2 separate regions of the Homo sapiens genome follow, and region 2 is linked to region 1. The links are contacts of gene promoters, found by promoter capture Hi-C in human tissues and cell types (Jung and others, 2019). All regions are on one chromosome and are shown on one strand. The core of a region is centred on a gene start or on the middle of the fragment in contact, and the rest is flanking DNA. Distances in the headings are between cores, read along the strand shown.

Region 1 (4,314 bases), core at 521-3,020:
CTGGGCTGACCATTCACGGGCTCTGGAAAGAAAGCCTTGGTCTCTCTGCGGAGGAGGAGAGGAACTCGGGCCCCCGCCCCGCCCCAGGGCCTCCAGGAAGCAGCCTGCAAACTCGGCGACCCCTGGGAGCCGTGGTCTGTCCCAGCACTTTGTTTCGGAGGTAGGCGCACTGGCCGCCCACTTCCTGAATTGTTCACTCAATTTTTTTACAACTTTTGCAGACTCTTTGCTGGTGCCAAAAAGTCCTCTGGCTCAGCTAAGAAACGTGAAAACTATTTTTGGCATGCAGAAAAGTCGCTACAGGACTAAATTAGAGTCGGCGCCTGAAACGCAGCCCGCGTTCACAGATCCCGAAAATGTTGAATCCGACTCGCTTCAGAACACAGGAGGCCTGCAGCGAACTCTGGCGGCATCTCGGTACCTGGAGCCGCGGGGCGGAGGGATGGGGATTCCTGCTGTGGAGACCGTGACGCGGGACGGCCCGCAGGACAGGGTGTCAACCCCAACGCAACGCATCCGGTTAAACGTATAGCGCAACTGCGAACACGCTCGCGTGGATTAGAAGCGAAAGAAGAGAAATGCCCGAGGCAGAAACCCGCTCTGAGTCCCGGCTCCATCTAGACCCGGGCTGCCCCGAGACTACCGCGCGGCCCCTCTCGGGAACCCCGGCCGCCCGGCTCGCTCCGGGCGCAGGAAAAGCCCCTGAGAAGCGCGGGGCCCCCAGGACACCCCAGGAGAGGACGCTCCGGGCAGATGCGGGGGCACTGGGAGCGGGGGCGCCGCGGCTGCGGGAACTGAGGCTCCTCTGGGGAGGCTTCCCCGGCGCGGGGGGATGGGGTGGGCACTGCGCTCCAAGGGGCGGGGGAGGGGGAGAGGGCGGAGGCTGGGGGAGGAGAAGGAAGGGGGGGAGGAGGAGGGGAAGGGAGGAGGAGGAGGAAGGGGAGGAGGAGGAGGAAGGGGAGGAGGAGGAGGAAGGGGAGGAGGAAGAGGAGCGGAGGAGGGGAGCGAACAGGACGAGGAACGGGGCGGAGGGGGCTGGGAGGACGGAGGGGGCTGCGCCGCGCTCGGGGAGCGGAGGGGGACCGAGGGGTCCTGAGCGGGGGAAAGGTGAGCGGAGGAGGGGCCGCGAACCAGGGGGAAGCGGGAGGCCGGCGGAGCATGAGAGGGGGCGGCGGGAGGCGAGCGGGGGGAGCCCCGGAGGCTCCAACAACTTCCCAGTCCTGCGGGGATTCCGAGTTCCGAACAAAGGCGGCTACGAAGGCCGCGCGCACAGCGCTCTGTTCCGCCCCTCGGCGTCTCCCGCAGGGCGAACAAAGGCCCAGCGGGTCCCCGCGCCCAGGTCCCCCCACGTCCCCCTTCGGAGGTTCCCTTCTGCGTCCCAAGTCCCCAGGCCCCCCGCGCGCCCGATGCCCCCTCCACCCTCCGCGCCCCCCACCTCCGATCACCCCTGCGCTCCCGGATCTCCACGAAGCCCCGGACCCCGCGCCCCCGGCGTCCCCCGCGGCACTCACAGGATGGAGGTCTGCGGCGCCACGGCGGGCACGGCCTCCAGCAGCAGATGCATGCAGCGCACGGTGGTGCGGAAGCACAGGCAGCGGCTCGGACACCCTGCGCCCGGCTTCTGGGCCACCACGGCCAGCGTCCCCCAGGCGCAGAACAGCACGAGCGCCAACAGGCAGCGGCGCCCGGGGCCCCTGGAGCGCTTGGCCATGGCCGACGGCGCGGACGGACGCTCGGACGCACGGAGCCACCACGGCCGGCTCCCGACTGCGCCCGCCCGGCCGCGGCCCACGTCCCAGCTGTGCGCGGGGGGCGGGGGGCGCCAGCTGTGCACATGCGCGAGGCTCCTCCCGGCCCCTCTGAATCCCCGAGGGCGGGGCGGGGCGAGAACCCGGGGCCCCAGCGTCCGGCCTGAGCGCCCTCATCCCGGTGGGGCGGCCCGCATGGCCAAGGCGAGCGCTCGGGGGCGCGGAGGAGAGCATTGGCACCCCTGATTCTGCGCTCGAGACTCGGGGCTCGGGACCCTGGGGCCTACGCGAAGCTTCTCCACTTCTCTTACCCGTGGTTTCTGCCTGCGCTCACTACGGGTTTTTTAGTTGGCGCCTTAATGTTTGTAACACTTTTAGAGCGCTTGCTCTGATCCGGGCACGATTCCAGGCGCGCAGGCGCGCTCCTCTCTTTCTCCTTCTCCCTACCCGCAACCACGTAGGAAATTATTTAACGTTCCAAAAAAGCCCCTCATTCCTTTTGAGGAAACTGAGGCCCAAGCCCCAAAGCGCACAGCAAGGGAGTCTGCGGGAAGATTAGACCCAGGCGGTCCGGCTCCCCGGGGCCTGTCAGCCACCTGCTCTCTGCCGGCCGCCTGGCTCAGCACAGTTGGGAAAATGAAAGGTCCTGTGTGGAGTCCTTGGCGCGGCGCAATGCAGCCCCCGGGATTCTCGCGGCCTTCAGTGCGTGCCCTCCTGGGACAGACCTAGGAGGAGACCCAGGGAACCCCCCCCCCCCACGTCGGGTGTGTCTAGAGACAGCAGAAGACTTTGGAAAGGAGGGAAGACACTGCGTGAGATACGCACAAAGGTGGCGTTCTCACATAGTTCATACATTCTCTCCAATCATCTCACAAGGACCCAGTCTGAATTTCACAGACAAGGAAGGTGAGGCCAAGTTGCTGAACCCAGGCCACAGGGTGACGGTGCCAGATTCAGAGGCACAGCATGGGCGTGTTCCCGTCGCAAACCCCAAGTCTCAGCTGTGTCCCCGTGCTGGTGTTCTAGCCTGAGCTGCGTTTGAAAGCAGCCTGGAATGGGATTGGTGGGTAATAGGCTAGTTTCCTGTTGCTATGTTAAAACACAAAAGCAACTACCACGAGACATAGCCCGGAGGTCACAGGTGCATTGCTGACCACAGGGCACCATCTAAGGACTGGACCCCCGAGGCTGCTGGCAGGGGGTTCCAGTTCCTTGCCGTGTGGGTCTCCATGGCCTGCACACTGGACATGGCCTGATGCCTCCCAGAGCAGGTATTAGAAGAAAGAGGAAGAGAATGAGAGTACAACACAGAAGCCAGGGTAAAACCTAACCCAGCCTTGGAACTGGCCCCGCATCACACCTGCGGGGTGCATCCTCAGAGGTCGGTGGCTCCCGCTGACATTCCAGATGCCATCTTTCCTGCAGGATTTTATCCACCCTCTACAGCGGATGCAGCTCACACTCCGGATTCCATTTCTCCTGCAGGATCCTATTCACACACTCCGGTGGGCCCAGCTCACACTGCAGACAACATCTCTCCTGCAGGATACTATCCACACACAGAAGTGGGTCCAGCTCACACTGCAGACATCTCTCCTGCAAGATCCTATTCACACATTCCAGTGACTCCAGTTCACACTGTAGATGCCAAAACTTATGCAGGATTCTATGCACACACACTAGTGGTGCATTTCACACTCCGGATGCCGTATCTTCTGCAGAATCCTGTCCACACATTTCAGTGGGTCCAGTTCACGCTCTACATGTGCTCTCTCCTGCGGGCTCCTATCCACACACTCCGGAGGTGCCATTCACACTCTAGATGCCATCTCTCCTGCAGGACGATGTCCACACCCTCCAGTGGGTCCAGTTCACACTCTAGAGGACATCACTTTTGCAGGATCCTCTCTACACATTCCACCGGTGCCATTCACACCACAGATGCTGTCTCTTTGCAGAGTCCTATCCACATGCCCCAGGGCTGCAGCTCACACTGCAGACACCATCACCCCTGCAGTATCCTATCCACACACCTCAGTGGGTCCCATTCACACTCCAGAGGCTATCACTTTTGCAGGATCCTATACACACACTTTAATGGGGCCAGCTCACAGTCCAGAAGCCGTTACTCCAGCATGATTCTAGCTACACACCCCAGTGGCCCAGTTTACACTGCAGATGCCTTGTCTTCTGCAGGATCCTCTCCAGGCACAACAGTGGGTCCAGTTCACACTCCAGTTGCCATCTCTCCTGCAGGACCCTACCCATACACTCAAGTGGGTCCAGTTCACACTCCAAATGCCATCCACCTGCAGCATCCCAACCTCTCACTCAAGTGGGTGCAGTTCACACTCCAGTTGCCATCTCTCCTGCAGGACCCTACCCACACACTACAGTGCTCCACTTCACACAGCAGACATCATCACTGCTGAAGGCTGCTGTCCACACAGTCCTGTGGATGCAGTGCTCACTCCACATGCCATCACTCTTGCAGGATCCTACCCACACACTCGAGGCAGTCCAGATCACACTGCAGATGTCATCACTCCTGCAAGATGCTATCCAT
Region 2 (4,314 bases), core at 1,242-3,741, 110 kb before region 1:
GGGCATTTATTTGCCAGAGGTTTTTCCCAAGAGCTCACTCCCACCTGCCAAAATTCAGTCGGGTTAAAGCATCCCAGCTGCTTCGGAAAAGGAAGTCAACTTTATCTAATACCTTATTTTTAGTAATTTTTTCACATTTAGTCACAAAATGATTAGTGACTAGGACAGTTCTGGGGCTTCTTCCTGGACCTACCTCCTTCCCTTCTCAGGCTTTTGATCTCACCTGGAAAAGTTTTAGCCTCATGTACTGGTTTCAGGTAAAAAAAAATAAAGCCATTCTCCATTTGAAAATGTGACCCATTTATTTGAACTGAAAGGCATCATTACAAAGTGCAAACATTTCTTTGGTAATGAACTGAATACAATGGTCATAAAAAAGGCATTTGGCTGTTGGAGCAGTTAGAAAAGTAAATAAATATGTACATTCCACTCCTGTTACAGCGATCCCGCACAGTGGCTGCTAGACACGTTCACCCAGGCACTGCCCACTGTTCTGATTACAGAGAGTATCAAACTGGTGATTCCGCAGACATTTTGGTTTGAATTACAGAATTTTTTTTGGTAAATCACAGTCAGCTTCCCCCTTTGGCTTAGACAACACAATTCCTTGTGACTGGCCCAGACCGCACATTACGCAGGTGTGCTACAGGTGTGCCGCCTCAGCACTGAGACCATGAGGCCTCCAGGGCATGTAAGAGGCACAGAACACTCCCAGAACCCAGAATCTGCTGTCATCTGAGTGCCTGAGCAACTTACATAACCATCAGCTTTTAGACGAACTTACACATTTCCTATTTGACAGAAATCTCTTCCACAATTTGGTCACTACATTTGACTTGCTATTTCAAAAGAAGTCCACATGTCATGAAACACCAACCAATTTTTATCAATCACTTACCAATATGAGGTTAAGAAGTTAAGACAACCATTTTTACAGATAAAACACATGAATCCAATGACCTTCCTCACAGCTGAAATGCTGCCTCCGCCGCAGCAACTTGGCCGGCCCGTGCTGGAAGGGTCTGGGTGTCTCCTTGGGAGGATGTGCACCTGGAACACGGGTTGTGCACAAATCACACCAGGCACTGTATGCGCCCATCCTGTCAGAAGGAAGCTGGCCTCCCCCACCCCATGGAAGCCTCGACGCCATACCCCAGTGCTGGACACCTGCCACCCTGAACCGAAACGGCCCCTGACCTCAGGGGCTCCCTCCACCACCTCAGCTGGGCCTTGCTGCGGGCAGGTGGCCCGGACCTTGGTGCCTCGTGTGCCCAGCACTGTGCCTGGCACATGGTGGATACTCAGGTCAGCGTGCTGCACTGAAGCTGTGTGTTCGGGGAAAGGTTGCTCAGAACACAGATCGCTTTGTATTTAGAGAAAAATGGAAGGTTTTGGTCAATTAAAGAGAGACCATGAGGTATGAGAGTTGATTTTCACTGACGTCTAAAAGAACTTTGCATAGTGGAAATGGTTTTTCTGCCATATCTAATACCTAAAAAATGGACACAATTTCATAAAACATCACGCATTTTAAAAATACAAATGAGGTATAGGGATTCTTTTTTTTTTTTTTTTTTAACGCACTCACACAACCTGAAGTTAGACAGTTCCCGACACTTGAGCTCCTCCTCCCTTGGGAAGAGCCATCCGGAAGCGGCTCTTGTTCAGGACGTGGACGCAACCAGGGCCGGCTGGGAGCGGCGTTGTCAACACACACCCTTGGCCCTCGGCAGGTATCAGATACACAATGGGATGAAGGAGGTTTTTTCACATTTGGTTCACAACTAGGCAGTATGTGTGCAAGTGACAGCTGAAAGCAAACCTGTTTCTAAATGTGGCTTATGAATGTTCTAATCAGGTGTGGAAGGAGCTGACACACGGAGAGTCACAGGCTATACAGCTGCTTCGAGCAGCGGGAATGTTTGTCTTGGGATTAGATGCTGACGTGTGGTGAAATGTTACAGAGAGCCCAGAGGAAGGAGGAGTTCAGAGGTTCCCAGGGAAGAGGCCGGGGGCTTGCACTGCACCCCCAGACAGTGTCCCTGTGAACGCTCTCATCAAAGGTTCTGTTCCGTTTGCCAAACACCAATTTTCTTTTTAAACATAGCTTGTGATGGAACCCCGATTTCGGTGAGCCCCTCTGGCAGCTCCAAGACTCACCCCACCTGCGGGTGACAGGTCTGCCGGCTCCTGGCATCTGAACAAGGCAAGGCTGACATATAGAGGTATCCTGCTTTATTTAAAAAGAAATGGTGTTGGGAGGCAAAATCAATTTAGGCGCCTAAATGATTCAACTGTGCAATTTAATAGTAGCACCAATTTTTCATTTTAAAAGAATTAAATAAAAACCTGAGAAGTCTAACGTGAAGCTAGGACTCCTGCCTGCTTCCCTTCAGGCACCTGCTGTGCCTCCTTCTCCGCAGATGCTCTGGTTGGAAGCCTCCTGCACTGCCTTCTGTAACAGCACCAGCTGGACGTTGTCATGAAATGTCACGAGTTCTGGGTGTTTCCTGGTCTGCAGTCCGCAGCTCCCTGCCATCGGCCACCCGATCTCACGATGGCACAGCAGACAAACTCTGAGGAGCCTCCCAGGAGCCTAGGGCTTTTCCTCCGCCCTCTTCTGTAAGCAGACTGGACAGCAGGCCCCTGGGATGTTCACGGGGACAGCACAGGTGGCAGGGGGGCAAGCTTCCACGAAGCAGGTGACCTGCCCGTCCTGGAGAAGAGAGACGGAGCACAGCCTGTCAGCTCTGGGATGGCCTTCAGGTGAGCAAAGCCTGTCAGCTCCGGGACAGGTGTCAGCCACGGCCATGAGTCAGGCCTTGCCCTGAGGCCCCTGCCTTGCCCGCTGTACTTGCCCTGTGGGCATGGATTTTGTGGTTCTCTTAGGATTTCATAGTTGCAGACAGGTATGAGTTAATGGGAGCCCCCATAACAAGTCTCCCTGAGGCTCCCGTCCCACCCTTCCGTCCATGCCCACGGTCCTCTCACCCTGAGGGGCCAAGACCACCAGCTGGACACATCCTCCCACCTCACACCTGGATCCCCTCGGACTGTGTCTGGGGGTGGGCGTTGTCAGGAAGCAGGATGGGACTAGAGAGAGGGGGGAAGGGACAGGGCTTTGCTCTTCCCCGGTCTGCCCTTCCCAAACCTGACCAGCTCAGGGACACTGATGCGCGTCCTCTCCCAATGGCCATGGCAAGAGAAGTGCCCGGGCTGGCGCGCTGTCCTCCCCATCCTGCCTCCTCACACTATGCCCCAAGCTTTCCACGGAGCCTGGTTCCAGCCAGACGTCTGTCCATTGCCGGCACCAGGGCACCCTCCACCTGCCACCAGTCTCCCTTTGCAGGGACTCCAGTGACCTCTGTAACACCCCCAGCTCTGACTGGAGATGGGACAGGGCCAGTGGTGGGCAGGTCAGTGTTTACCCACCAGCTCTGCAGGGAGGAGCTGATCTACCCCATTCATGGGTTTCCATGGCATGAGTATTCCTGCCACAGCTGGTGGGAGGTGAAGCCAGTGCACACAAGCAGCCCCAGGTGGCCCTGCACAGAGTAGGGGCTGCCCGCCCTCTGTGGGGTTGGACCATGCTGAGGTTCTGGGCCTCCTAGCACGTCCTCTGTGCACAGAGAGCTGGGCTTGCCTGGTGCTTCCATAGGAGTGAAGGAGGGATGGAGGCCAGCACAGGTAGGCGGGGAGGGGCCTGGCCCTGACATCTGGGCCACCCACCTGAGTGGTCACATGGGACTCTCGGACTTGCGTATACCTTAGGACATGAAGATAGAGCCCCCCATACTCACTTTGCATTCACAAATGGTGCATGCATCTTTTTTCCACTTGGTGTTGTTGGCGTGAGATTCGCCCCCGGCATCCACGCACTCTGTGGTACTGAGCCGTGATTCAAGTTTCTTTATCTGCAGCAATGCAAAGAACATTCATTCATTGGGCACTTCAGAGTAACAGCTTGGCTCTTGTATTAAAAGATGTTATTTCACTGAAAATAATGCCTTAAAATAAACAACATTTGAGGGGAATATTTCTGAAGAACTTTTACAGAATCTCCAATGTCCTTATTAGACTGGCGGCAGCTGACCACACGCCCCAATGGAAGACATTCCCACCACCGTGCTGTCAAATAAAAACCGTAGTCACAAAGGCGACGTTCTCAGAGGACTGTGGGAGCAAGATTCAACCAGATGACGAGAACGTCCTGCACCTACACTTCCACCAGAACGAACGATGATCACTCAGAATCCCCAGAGTCAAGTCTGCCTTATTTTCCGAGTAACAACACCACTGGCTTTTCTCTGGAAG

Evidence for each region. The method cuts DNA at HindIII sites, captures the fragments that hold promoters and counts their contacts. A contact is called where the count stands out against the background at its distance.
Region 2: a contact is called between a fragment that was not itself captured here and the fragment with the promoter of PXDN in region 1, in 2 of the 25 tissues and cell types used here (aorta and heart right ventricle).

Annotation. Positions count from the first base shown.
Region 1 is chr2:1,742,745-1,747,058 of GRCh38, forward strand. PXDN (peroxidasin) reads right to left here and starts at 1,771. Exons shown (of 23, transcript NM_012293.3): 1 at 1,512-1,771. The coding sequence starts at 1,711. The HindIII fragment of the contact is 6,203 bases long and covers 945-4,314 here.
Region 2 is chr2:1,631,608-1,635,921 of GRCh38, forward strand. PXDN (peroxidasin) reads right to left here. Exons shown (of 23, transcript NM_012293.3): 22 at 3,801-3,914; 23 at 280-2,716. The coding sequence ends at 2,597. LOC124907723 (a long non-coding RNA gene) reads left to right here and starts at 2,424. Exons shown (of 2, transcript XR_007086188.1): 1 at 2,424-2,766; 2 at 4,078-4,314. The HindIII fragment of the contact is 3,337 bases long and covers 824-4,160 here.